Linked DNA regions of Homo sapiens: regions 1, 3 and 4 are each linked to region 2. Evidence: promoter capture Hi-C in 16 types of primary human blood cells and fetal thymus (Javierre and others, 2016). All regions are on one chromosome and are shown on one strand. The core of a region is centred on a gene start or on the middle of the fragment in contact, and the rest is flanking DNA. Distances in the headings are between cores, read along the strand shown.

What was found. Contacts are between HindIII fragments. The CHiCAGO score rates a contact against its expected background, and 5 or more counts as called.
Region 1: a fragment that was not itself captured here is called in contact with the fragment with the promoter of FIP1L1 in region 2 in 1 of 17 cell types (megakaryocytes); the score reaches 6.0 in megakaryocytes.
Region 3: a fragment that was not itself captured here is called in contact with the fragment with the promoter of FIP1L1 in region 2 in 5 of 17 cell types (naive CD8 T cells, naive CD4 T cells, total CD4 T cells and 2 more); the score reaches 5.5 in naive CD8 T cells.
Region 4: a contact is called between a fragment that was not itself captured here and the fragment with the promoter of FIP1L1 in region 2, in 5 of 17 cell types (total CD8 T cells, naive CD8 T cells, naive CD4 T cells and 2 more). The highest score is 6.3, in total CD8 T cells.

The regions. Positions count from the first base shown.
Region 1 is chr4:53,314,433-53,317,619 of GRCh38, forward strand. All of the region lies in intron 2 of SCFD2 (sec1 family domain containing 2), which reads right to left. Among named protein-coding and RNA genes, the nearest start is that of SCFD2, 50 kb to the right of the region's middle. The HindIII fragment of the contact is 1,693 bases long and covers 573-2,265 here.
Region 2 is chr4:53,376,055-53,379,075 of GRCh38, forward strand. FIP1L1 (factor interacting with PAPOLA and CPSF1) reads left to right here and starts at 1,587. Exons shown (of 18, transcript NM_030917.4): 1 at 1,587-1,869; 2 at 3,019-3,021. The coding sequence starts at 1,785. LOC105377654 (a long non-coding RNA gene) reads right to left here and starts at 1,686. Exons shown (of 3, transcript XR_007058118.1): 1 at 1,605-1,686. RefSeq lists enhancers at 1,305-1,853, 1,655-1,744, 1,795-1,914, 1,854-2,402 and a silencer at 2,075-2,164. The HindIII fragment of the contact is 4,469 bases long and covers 1-2,920 here.
Region 3 is chr4:53,434,980-53,438,009 of GRCh38, forward strand. The region is part of intron 13 of FIP1L1 (factor interacting with PAPOLA and CPSF1); the gene reads left to right. Among named protein-coding and RNA genes, the nearest start is that of FIP1L1, 59 kb to the left of the region's middle. The HindIII fragment of the contact is 2,246 bases long and covers 283-2,528 here.
Region 4 is chr4:53,418,587-53,421,755 of GRCh38, forward strand. All of the region lies in intron 11 of FIP1L1 (factor interacting with PAPOLA and CPSF1), which reads left to right. Among named protein-coding and RNA genes, the nearest start is that of FIP1L1, 43 kb to the left of the region's middle. The HindIII fragment of the contact is 2,302 bases long and covers 109-2,410 here.

The sequences.
Region 1 (3,187 bases), core at 169-2,668, 62 kb before region 2:
CTCTGTCTCACCCAACATGCTATGTCCAAATTATAAATGAGGGCAGTGTTCTTTCCGGAAGATCTCTGCCATGTAGCCAAGTATACACATTTGTAGTAACGTTTTAAAAACTGAATACAAAGAAACAAGGATGACTTCTGTCCCTTTCTAAAGACTTTTTCCTCCAATTAAAGCCCTACTCACTCTCCTACTATCCACTTAGTAATAGTTCAAAAATAAATACATTTTTAATTTAGTTTTAAAGTTACATCTATTAAGATTTTAATTTAGTTTTAAAGTTATACCTAATAAGACATATCTTCCAAATTTGAATTGGATATTGAATAATAGAATGATGTATTTTTACACTGAGTTTAATGCCTGACACATTATAATCTTTCATTGAATAGTTTTTATTATCATGTATCTTTCCATAATGAACTAATATTACTGCTCAACATACTCCACTTGTTTTAATCTGATCAAATCTGTCATCATTATAACTCTGCATCTAATATTCTTAAGTTTAATTTAAGTAAGCAGGTAAACTACATGCCAAGCCCTGTATTTGGTTGGGATACAGATTTTTAAAAAGCTTTGAATGGCATAGTTTAGAAGACAAGGCAGATACAAAAGCAAATAAATTACTAAAAAAGTGTGGTAATAAAAGCCATGGTCAATGCTTGCATAGGTGTTTATGCAAGCATAATCCTAGCTGGGAGGATAGGGACTGAAGGAATGATTTCTACTGGAAATGATGAGCAAGTACAAAGATACATAAGCTCTAAAAGCAGCCTGGGAAGAAGTTAAAACTCAATCTGGGAAGGAAAATGGCAAAAAAAAAAAAAAAAAGCCTTCAAGAAAGATATAAAATCTTGGTTACAAAACAAGAGAAAGAAGGACATTTCAGAATGCAAAAAATCCTAGGAACATGACCCTGAGGAGCACTGTTCTGTTGCATGCCAAGGTGCACGGGGAGGGGCAGTGGAAGGAGAGCATAAAAGAAGGTGCAGCCACACTCTGGGGGTTCTGCATTCCTTGCCAAGTCATGTCAACTTTGATATGTAGGTGACAGGAAGCCAAGGAGCATGTGATTGATTTCACACTTTGAGAAGAACAGCATAGCTCAGCAGTTATGAATACAGTCTTTATCATAATTCAAAAGGAGGTCTGTTTGCTATGAGGCTTTCAGAAAGTTACTTAATTTCTCTAAAGCTCTGCAGGCAATTGAAGAACCATGGAAGAATTCTGAGCATGGGAGTTACAATCCCAGTTTCCCAAACTTATGCTTCATAATTGTTCTCTAGTCTCAACAATATCTCTCCACAAAACACAGGGATTTCTCACATAAGTCTCAACGCAACCCAGAACTTTCAGAGTAGAATGTCACTACCCTCCTCTTTTCCATGAGAATATGTATCTGGCTAATTCATCTCTAAAATCACAGTAAGTTAGGTAACGTTGTGGTTGCCCCATCAGATTGGTGTAGTGGTTTATGGACTCCGCAGTCAGATAAATCTGGGTTCGAACTCCAACCATGCTCCTCCTCACCCACTCCAAATACATGGCCTCCTAGACCATTCTTCTCCCGTATTCCAAGCAGAGGAACACTCTTTCTACAAATCTCTCTCTCCCTCCAGGTATCTGCTAAAACATCACCTTATCAGAGAGGTCTCCCCTTACTGCCCTGCTTAAAAAAGTGACATTGCCTATCACAGCATCTTATGCTAGCACTCTGTTGTCTACTTACTGGGCTTTACTGTTCTACATAATTCTAATTACCAGCTGACTTATTATGTTTCCATGTTTATTTGTTGTCTGTCTCTCTCATAAAAGGTGGGGTCCTTCTATGAAGGCAGGGACTTTGTTTTACTCATTGCTAATTCTTCACTACCTAGAACAGTGCAGATCTCTGGTGGGTACACTCAGTAAATACTGAATAAATGATACTTGTTAATTGTGTAACTGTGCACATAATTAATGCTCTCTTTTTGGTATCTGTGGAGTTGGAAGTTATAATAGTGAATTCACAGGATTGTTGTAGGATTAAATAATATAATTCATTTAAAGCACTTTCCTGATTCACAATAAATGTAAGTTGTGTGGTGGTGGTTGTAGTTGTTACTAGTATTACTGTTGTTATAAGTGGTATTGTCTTATATTCATGGTCTTTAATTCACTATGTTCAGGAGTTTGTGATATATTGGATGAATTCACTTACTTAATTACACTGAGTATGCTTATTCATACAATCTTGATTAGTGCAGATGTACTAAAGTCACTTGAAGCTTGTACTATCTGGCTCTTGTCTATTAAAATATTTTAGAAGAAATACAAAGTTTCCATGATCTCTAACAGTGATACATACTCAGGTCATGTTTTCTTAAAAATTGTTTTGCTGATATAAACAATTCTGGGCCGGGCGCAGTGGCTCACACCTGTAATTCCAGCATTTTGGGAGGCCAAGGCAGGCAGATCACAAGGTCAGGAGTTTGAAACCAGCCTGACCAACATGGAGAAACCCCGCCCCTAATAAAATTCAGAAATTAACCGGGAGTGGTGGTGTGCGCCTATAATCCCAGCTACTCAGGAGGTTGAGGCAGGAGAATCGTTTGAACCCGGGAGGTAGAGGTTGCAGTGAGCCAAGATCATACCACTGCACTCCAGCCTAGGCAACAGAACGAGACTCCATGTCAAAAAAAAAAAAAAAAATTCTGAATGTCTAGATATGTGTGAGAGTTCCTAATGCCTGCTTCCTGTCCTAAACAGTTTTCTAAACACGTCATACTAACTTCACATTACACATGGTCATTTTAAGTTTATCAAGGGAACATTTACAAGTTAATTAAGGTTCTCTGAATAATTGGCACTGAAGAAGGTCAAAGTCATACTTACTGGTATTTTTTTTGTCTCCTGCACCCACTTCTTCACCAAGTCACTCTATTACTGCAATGTGGTAATTCACACACATACACCTATATCAGCATCTGAGTTGAGCATGGTAGTTAAGTCACTGCCTTTCTCTAATATGCTCATAAAAGTTGATCCAATAGGCAGTATTTCATACAATTGAATTTTCACATGAAATCAACTCCTGATATTAAACTTTATGTCAAGAAAAGTTAATTGAAATCCATACTATAATTGCAATAGCGGATTATACGTAAATCTTTATCATCTCCAACTGTGCAAAACTTTCTGTTTTCCT
Region 2 (3,021 bases), core at 337-2,836:
CCAGCCTAGGCAACATGGTGAGACATTGTCTCTACAAAAAATAAAAAATTAGCCAGGTGTGGTGGCACCTGCTTGTCTGTAGTCCCAGGTACTCAGGAGGCTGAAGTGGGAGGACTGTTTGAGTCTGGGAGGTAGAGACTGCAGTGAACAGTGACCCTGCCACTGCATTTCAGCCTGGGTTACAGAGTAAGACTGTTTTTTAAACAAAACAAAACAAAACAAAACAAAACAAAACAAAACAAAAAAACAGGCCGGGCGTGGTGGCTCATGCCTGTAAGCCCAGCACTTTGGGACACCAAGGTGGGCAGATCACCTGAGGTCAGGAGTTCAAAACCAGCCTGGCCAAAATGGTGAAACCCCCTCTCTACTATAAATACAAAAATTGGCTGGGCATGGTGGTGCGTGCCTGTAATCCCAGCTACTTGGGAGGCTGAGGCAGAAGAATCGCTTGAGCCCAGGAGGTGGAGGTTGCAGTGAGCAGAGATCGCACCACTGTACTCCAGCTGGGCAACAGAGTGAGACTCCGCCTCAAATAAATAAACAAACAAACAAAAAACCTAGACAAACCTAGAGCTCCAGTTTGAACCATGGTATGTCATCTTTTCACTGGAAGATGTGCTTTCAGAAGCGGCCTGAACATTTGGTTTACCTATTAAAATAAAAACTGTACATACTTTATGATCTATCTTTGAGAAACAGACAAATCTGCAAGGAGCCGTGTGGATCTTCATTGTCATTTTTTGTTGTAGTTAAAAGTGTAAAGTCAAAAGCAATCTGGGTGTACATCAATGGAGAAATAGCCATATTCACTCTGTGATAGCCATACTATGCAATTTTATGAAGCACTTAAAATAGATATAGTTTGATTCATACTAAAATGAAAAAGAGCTCCAAGACACGGATGCTAAAAAAAAAGAAAAAAAAGGAAGTCGAAGGATGATACTATACTGTACTGTACTATTTAAGACTTGTCAATCTCAGGTTCTCCCACCAAAACAGCACAACACATGAAGTAAGTGTATAGGAAATTTCGGAATGATGAACTCCAAACAGGATATGCATCTGTAGCAAGGGCTACCTCCGGAGAGAAGGGTAGGGGAATGAGGCGGTCTTTGACCTTGACAGTAATTTATGGTTTTTAACAAGGAGAGTGCATTCTTCATCTATTAGTTTTGCTTTTGTTGGCTGTGAAAATTAATTTTTTGAGAAATAGTACTGATTGTGATTTCTTCTCTATTCAGTGAGGAAAGGGAGTGACAGGTAATGATTCTGTATCAAGGCTGATTAAAGAATAAAAGAAGGCCTTTCTGAAGATTAAAAAACAAATAAAAAGTTGAGAAGAAAGAGCACGAAGAGTAGAAGGGAACAATGGTGTACTCGCCAGCAATGGCAATACGGGTTATTAAAAAGAAGGGTGGGGGCGGGGAACCCTGGCCGACTCAGGACGCCACGGGAGGAAGCCACGCAAAATAGCAAACCGGGATCCTAGAGGGGCGGGGCCCACCTCAGCGCGCAGGCGCAACCAGGCCCAGGTGGCCGCCGCGGAAGCGAAGCCACCTATACGCGCCGCGCCGCTTGGGTCTCCTGCGCATGCGCAGACGGACCTGCGCTGGAGGCTTCATCTTTGCCGCCGCTGCCGTCGCCTTCCTGGGATTGGAGTCTCGAGCTTTCTTCGTTCGTTCGTCGGCGGGTTCGCGCCCTTCTCGCGCCTCGGGGCTGCGAGGCTGGGGAAGGGGTTGGAGGGGGCTGTTGATCGCCGCGTTTAAGTTGCGCTCGGGGCGGCCATGTCGGCCGGCGAGGTCGAGCGCCTAGTGTCGGAGCTGAGCGGCGGGACCGGAGGGGATGAGGAGGAAGAGTGGCTCTATGGCGGTACGAAACTTCCTGTCTCTGTCTCTCGGGTTCTCTCAGGCCTCCCCTCTTGGCCCTCAAACGGCCGGCGTCCCTGGCCTCTCGCGCCGCCGCTTCGGGCCTCTGGTTGGGAGTCCTGTCCGGCCTGACTTAGGCCGAGCGCGGCGTGCGCGTGCCCCCAGTCCCCGCGGCGGTCTCCCGCCTGGCCCACGCCCACCATGCGCATCCACCCCTGTGGCGGCCGGGCCGGGCTGGGGGGCTGTGACCGGTCCTGGCCCCCGGCTTCGCTGTGCTTTCCCCGAGGCGTCTCGATCGCCTAGCTGCTGCGCTCTTTACCCTTGTTTTTTTCTGTCGATTCTGAGGTGGTGGTTTTTGGTGTCTGTTTTTGCCCTGTGGCCTTAGGGTGCCCTTCCTGTCCCTTCTTTCAGAAACAGTCATTCTGTAATAATAGCTAAATAAAGTTAATGCTGTACAACTAACGTCTTGTTTCTTGATGGTCAGTTTGTATGGAATGCACCTGCAAGGGTACCTCCTTGTCTGAAAGTCGTGCTTTAAAAATAATTAATTAAGAGAGAGAGAGAGAAAGATGGCCCATAAAGAAAACTCTGAATGTCTCCTGTATTAAGGTGAAGTTATTCTTTTTTAAGAGACTACCGTTTAACCTACATCATGGAGGTATCTCATGACCCTTCGGCTTATAGTTTTCAGTGTCATCTCATGTATTTGTTTTTCTCAAAATAAATTTAATGCATCATGTACTTCTCTCTAGAAGGGTACTTGTTTGACATCTGGTTTTTAACTTTAAGTCACAATCCCTTCTTGCTTGTTAACACCAGATTTGAAAGTTAATGTTTGTTCCTTGCCTAAAACATATATTCTTGATTGTCTTTAGAATAGAATAGTAAAAGTGCACTTTGGGCACCATGCAGGTCCTTGATGATGTGACTTTGATAAACTTGTAAAAAAAAATCGTTTGGTGGCAAGATTTAGCATTAGTTACTACTCTTTGAAATGTGAATGTGTAGGATTTCTTTTACAAAGATCTGGAAATCTTCATTACCTCTTAAATTTAAGCTTATTTTTATAGCAGTAAAGTCTGATTTTTTTTTCCATAAAATAAGTATCTTGTTAAGTAATTATAAGGTGATCTAACTTTGGATGTGCTTATAGGCC
Region 3 (3,030 bases), core at 156-2,655, 59 kb after region 2:
TTTATAATACCATGAATTTTTGGTCTTACTCAACAGATTACCTCAAATTAACTGGCACTGTTTGCCAGAAATGTAAGCATTTTCCAGAGTTACCATTAAAAAAGAACTCAAAGTTTTTGAAAACTGTATTTATTCTTGTGTTTTTCTATATTCAATTTAAAAAGCCTGCCTATCAGTGTTTTCATTAAATTCAAAACAGAGAGCAATGCTAATTATCTATAATAAATAGAATTTTCTGGCACAATTAAAATTTATTTAAATGTAAATTTAATAGAGATTAAAAGCTTTCTTAGGATGTTGATTTTTGAATGTGCTTTCTCCTCCAGGATGCACCCTTTATAATAGTTACATTTTGAATACATCATTGACACCACATTTTGTTGAATCTAATTACAGTTTAATTTGTGCCTTCTGCTTACACTGCTCTTTTGATCGTCTCATGATTATATGGAAGCTGGTAGAGATCATTTCTTTACAAGTTCTCTATTAAAAAACATAGGTATTTCTATCAAAAATGTTTTGTGTAAGATAGAAGTTTATCTTCTGTAGGCTTTAGATTTTATAAAATAGAAGAGTAACAGATCCTAATAAAGGTAACATAGTTTGTCCATTTTATAGTGTATGTAAAATTACCTTTTTTACCTTTTAGACATGAAGTATGCTGGTAAATTTTTGGTTACTTTGTTGTGTGACCGTACCACTTTTTAACCCTTTTTTCTTTTCTTAAAAATAACTTAAAACTTTTTTTGCACCTTGTAATTGTTTTAATTATGAAATAATGGTTTTGCCATATTCTTTCTACATTCTGGTTTGTATTTAAGGGTGGATGGTAGATGAGATGATACACGTGTGTGTGCGTATGTTTTTGTTTGTGTTGAATTTTTAAAATCCTGATACATAGAAACGCATTTCTGGTAGAAGGTGATATTTAAAGATTTTTGTAAACCTTGTCCTTTTCTACTCATTTTGAGTAAAACTTCTGAGCTTGATGGCTTTGAAATACAAGTCATGAGACTTAAGGAAAGTGATCAAGTTTATCTGTTTCTTAAATAATAGTGCCGACGGAACTTGGAATTTACTAGTGAGAAATAGGAAGCGTAGTTTACATATTCTGCCATTTTTTTTCTTTCATGTGAATTTGAATAGAGAAAAGATAGATGGTTATTGCATGTATTGGGTTTCTACTGCCGTATAACAAGTTACTCCAGAATGTAGTGGCTTAAAACAACATACATTTATTATTGAACAGTTTTCATGGGTCAGGAATCTGGGACAGCTTAGCTGGATCCTCTGCTTTAAGGTCTCTCTCAGACCTCACAGTCTTCTCCAAAAGCCTGACTAAGGAAGTATTTGTCTCCAAGCTCACTCACCTCTTTGTTAAAAGGATTTTGTTTTTTTCTAGGCTGTTGCATTGACAGGGCTTCAGTTCCTCACTGGTGTAGGCGTCTTAATATGTTAGCTTGCTTAATCAAAGCATGTAAGCCAAGAAGGCAACAGAGAGGGTGCCAGTGAAATAGAAATAACTGTCTTTTGTAACCTAGTCATGGAAGTAACATCCTTTGATTTTTTTTGTGTGTGGTAGAAATAAGTCACAATGTCCAGCCCCCACACAGGACATAAATACCAGCAGACAGGGATCATTGAGAGCCATGTCAGAAGCTATTTTGCCTTAGTTATATAAAATTATGATAGACTACATTGAGAATGAGTTTATAGACAATCTGTTTAGTTTTTTTGTGAGTGCAAAGCCCACTATTAATTTTGTGGGAATTTTTAGTATGGGTAAATTCTTTTTAATATGATGTTTAACAGGAATGCTGCCTTTCTGTTTCTTTGCCTCAGTTCTTTCAATCTCCAAAATAGGATTTCAGGTCTTACCCCCACCCACTTTTACATTTAAGTGTATGTGTTATATGCTGGAAAAATTAAGCTGGGTGTGGTGGCTCACTCCTGTAATCCCAGCACTTTGAGAGGCCAAGGCGGGTAGATTGCTTGAGTTCAGGAGTTCGAGACCAGCCTGGGCAACATGAAGAAACCCCATCTTTATAAAAAATGCAAAAATTAAGGCCAGGCATGGTTGCTCACACCTGTAATCACAGCACTTTGGGAGGCTGAGGCGGGTGGATCGCTTGAGCCCAGGAGTTTGAGACCAGCCTGGGCAACATAGCGAAACCCTGTCTCCACAAAAAATGCAAAAAATTAGCTGAGCATGGTGGTACACACCTGTAGTCCCAGCTACTTGGGAGGCTGAGGTGGGAGGATTGCTTTGAGCTGGGGAGGCAGAGGTTGCAGTGAGCCGTGGTCATGCCACTCACCCTACACAACAGTGTGAGACCCTGTCTCAACCAAAAAAAAAAAAAAAAAAAAAAAAAAAGAGAGAGAAATCATCTTCTCTTTTGAGAATGCCAGATGGTGTAGGCTCTCATAGTCCTTTTAAGTGTCATAGGTAGATGCTTTTGTTTCATAAAAATTCGGAATGGGATTTATTTAGTCTGTACTAAATTGCTCAGCAGTGAAATTAGGAGGGAAGCTTAGAATCGGATCCAGTGATCCTCATAGTATAGTCCTGGGCCAGCAACATCATCTGGGAAATTTAGGGGAATGTAGGTTTTCTGGTCCCACCCCAGACTTACTGAATCAGAAATTCTAGGGGAAGGGCCCAGCAATCTGTGTGTTTTAAGAGACTCTCCAGGTGATTCTCATGCATGTTCAAGGTAGTTTTTATTTATTTATTTATTTATTTATTATTTTATTTTATTTTTTTGAGATGGAGTCTCGCTCTGTTGCCCAGGCTGGAGTGCAGTGGCGCGACCTCGGCTCACTGCAACCTCCGCCTCCTGGGTTCAAACGATTCTCCAGCCTCAGCCTCCTGAGTAGCTGGGACTACAGGTGCATGCCACCATGCTTGGCTAATTTTTTGTATTTTTAGTAGAGACAGGGTTTCACCATGTTAGCCAAGATGGTCTCCATCTCCTGACTTTGTGATCTACCTGCCTTGGCCTCCGGAAGTACTGGGATTACGGGTGTGAG
Region 4 (3,169 bases), core at 10-2,509, 42 kb after region 2:
ATTGCTGTAAACATATCCTAATGCACAGTTTATTTTTTTATTTTGTTTCCATTTTATGTTACCAAGTTCTGTTCCTCTTAATTTTCAAGTGATAGTTTATTTTTCTTAAGCTTATGTTCCTATATTACAATGCTTTTTAACTGATTCATACTCTTGAATGAATAGTAAAAATTGCTTTTCAATGTTAAATCACGAATACATTTAAACATGCATGTATTTCTTCTATTAAACACAATACTTATAATAAAACTGGACGTTAAATGAATATTATATCTAAGAATGACCTCTTCCTCTGACTATCTCCTTTTATGTCTTGATGAGACACTGTACTGAAAAGATGTGCCCATACCTTGGGGCATTTGATCAAGTGCTCTGAATGCATGTTGCTATAGTGTGTAGTTTGTAAGATTTTATGTTATTGGACATATGAAGGCCTTTGGGGTTTTTTGTTTGTTTTTTTAAGATTCTTGTAGAGCTGTGTCTTTTCCTATCATTGATACATTTAAAAGCATGAAATTAAGCATAAATATGGAAGGTAGAGCTTTATTCCAAGCTCTGTACAAAAGTGAGTAAACTTGTTTGCACTTTTGAACACACTTATGTCCTCCAGTGAGTGAAATTTGGGCTTATTTCACCTTTAAACATTCAAGGTTTTTTTGTTTTGTTTTAAATAGAGCTTAAAAATTGACATTTAAAAAATTCAGACCCCAGAAAATTAGTATGATAAACACTGTTGAAGAAGAAGGGAAGGGGTTTGAAGTTGGTTATGCTAAGCCTGAATCCTAGTGCTGCCACTTTACAATGCAAAAGAGCCTCTTTCCACATCTGTGAAAATGAAACTAATTGGATATGTACTTTACTTTTTATTTTTTCAAGACAGAGTCTCACTCTGTTTCCCAGGTTGAGTGTAGTGGTGGGATCATAGCTCCCTGCAAACTCGAACTACCAGGCTCAAGCAGTCCTCCCATCTCAGCCTCCCGAGTAGCTGGGACTACAGGCATGCCCACCATGCTCGGCTAATTTTTTATTTTTTGTAGAGATGAGGTCTCACTATGTTGCTCAGGCTGATCTTGATCTCCTGAACTCAAGTGATTCTCCTGCCTCGGCCTACTCCCAAATCACACCTGAGATTACAGGTGTGAGCCACTATGCCGGCCCCATATACCTTAAATGTGATGTACTTGTAAGGATTAAATAAATTCTAAGCTGTGAAAGCACCTATTTCAGGGCTTGAAAGATAAATCAGCCAGGCGCAATGGCTCACGCCTATAATCCCAGAACTTTGGGAGGCTGAGGTGGGCGGATCACCTGAGGTCGGGAGTTCAAGACCAGCCTGACCAGGCCAGGCGCGGTGGCTCACGCCTGTAATCCCAGCACTTTGGGAGGCCGAGGCGGGTGGATCACGAGGTCAGGAGATCGAGACCACGGTGCAACCCCGTCTCTACTAAAAATACAATAAAAATTAGCCGGGCGCGGTGGCGAGCGCCTGTAGTCCCAGCTACTCAGGAGGCTGAGGCAGGAGAATGGCGTGAACCCGGGAGGCGGAGCTTGCAGTGAGCTGAGATCGCGCCACTGCACTCCAGCCTGGACGACAGAGGAAGACTCCGTCTCAAAAAAAAAAAAAAAAAAAAAAAAAAAACCAGCCTGACCAACATGGAGAAACCCTGTCTCTACTAAAAAAAAAATTAAAAAAAAAATAGCTGGGCGTGGTAGCATGCGTCCGTAATCCCAGCTCGGGAGGCTGAGGCAGGAGAATTGCTTGAATCCAGGAGGCAGAGGTTGTGGTGAGCTGAGATCGTGCCATTGCACTCCAACCTGGGCAACAAGAGTGAAACTCCATCTCAAAAAAAAAAAAAAAAAAAGATAAATCAGACACTCAGTGAGTGTCGGATCTCCTCTTTCATCATGGGCTTTATCAGTCTCTTTAAATGTAGTACTGATAGAAAATAAATTGTATGTCCAGAAAAGTGTTTTGAATTCTGTGATTTTTATTTTAGACTAGGTTCTTTTTCTGGGCGGGATTTTTCATTAATAAATTGTTACTCGAACATTAGAATATATTTTCTTTATAAATTGTGTATATACTGTAGAGAAAATTATTCTTGTGCTTGTGGAAGTAAAACGTACACACAGGTATAGAAACAGTACCATTTCAGACCAGTCATGTTGCCCGGGCTGATCTCGAATTCCTGGGCTCAAGTACCACAAAACTAAAAGATCTGTAGAAAAATATGTAATCAATGATATTCTTATGTTGATGGATATGACTTTAAATTTTTCTTGAAATAAATATTAATTTTTTATGAGCTACTTTAAGTTCTTTCTGGAGGGAACAAAATGTCTAGCAGTCTCTTGAACATGCCCTTAGATTTGTAGTCTTCAACTTTGACCATATTGGAATTACCTAGGAAGCTTCAAAAAAGTATTGATGCTGGGTCCCAGAAATGTAATTTTAAATAGTCTGGTGTACACCCTGTGCATCAGGATTTTGATATGCAGGCAAGGTTGAGAACCACTGATTTAGAGCCTTGATTCTGGGTTGGCATAAAGATTAAAATCAAATGATAGCTAGGCACCTACGGTTTTGAAGTAAAATGATAGATGTAGTTACAATGGGAGCTGATATTTGTATAGCATTTTACAGCCTCACAGTCTTTTTCTTTATGTGCTTCTCATTTAATTTACATTTTCTGCCTCTTTGAATGTCTTTTGGTTGGTAACCACTATCAAAGGTGCATGATACTTCTGTTGCAAGCAAATGGATAGGTAATATATTTGCCACGTAGAAATTGTGCACATATCTACCCCTCTCCATCTTTTCTCTATGCTCATAGTTGTCCCTCCATCTGAAATGTTCTATCTTCCCATCCTACATGTCTTTTAAGGCTCATCTCTTTCCTAACGTAGCTTAAAAGATGCTACACAATTTCCATGCAGAACTGTTTACAGCCATCTATTTACATATGTGACCTGAATTAAATGTCATAACAAGTGCATCTCTTTTCAAGTTGGGAATATGAGATAGCCACATTCTAGGCTTTTTCTTAGCAAATGGACCTTTGAACTGTTTGCTGCCCAGTTCTTATTAGAAGCCCTTCTGTGAGAAAACATTCATAGATGTCTACATTGATATGTGATTCACCCATTCTTTTAGAATATGGTTATAAAC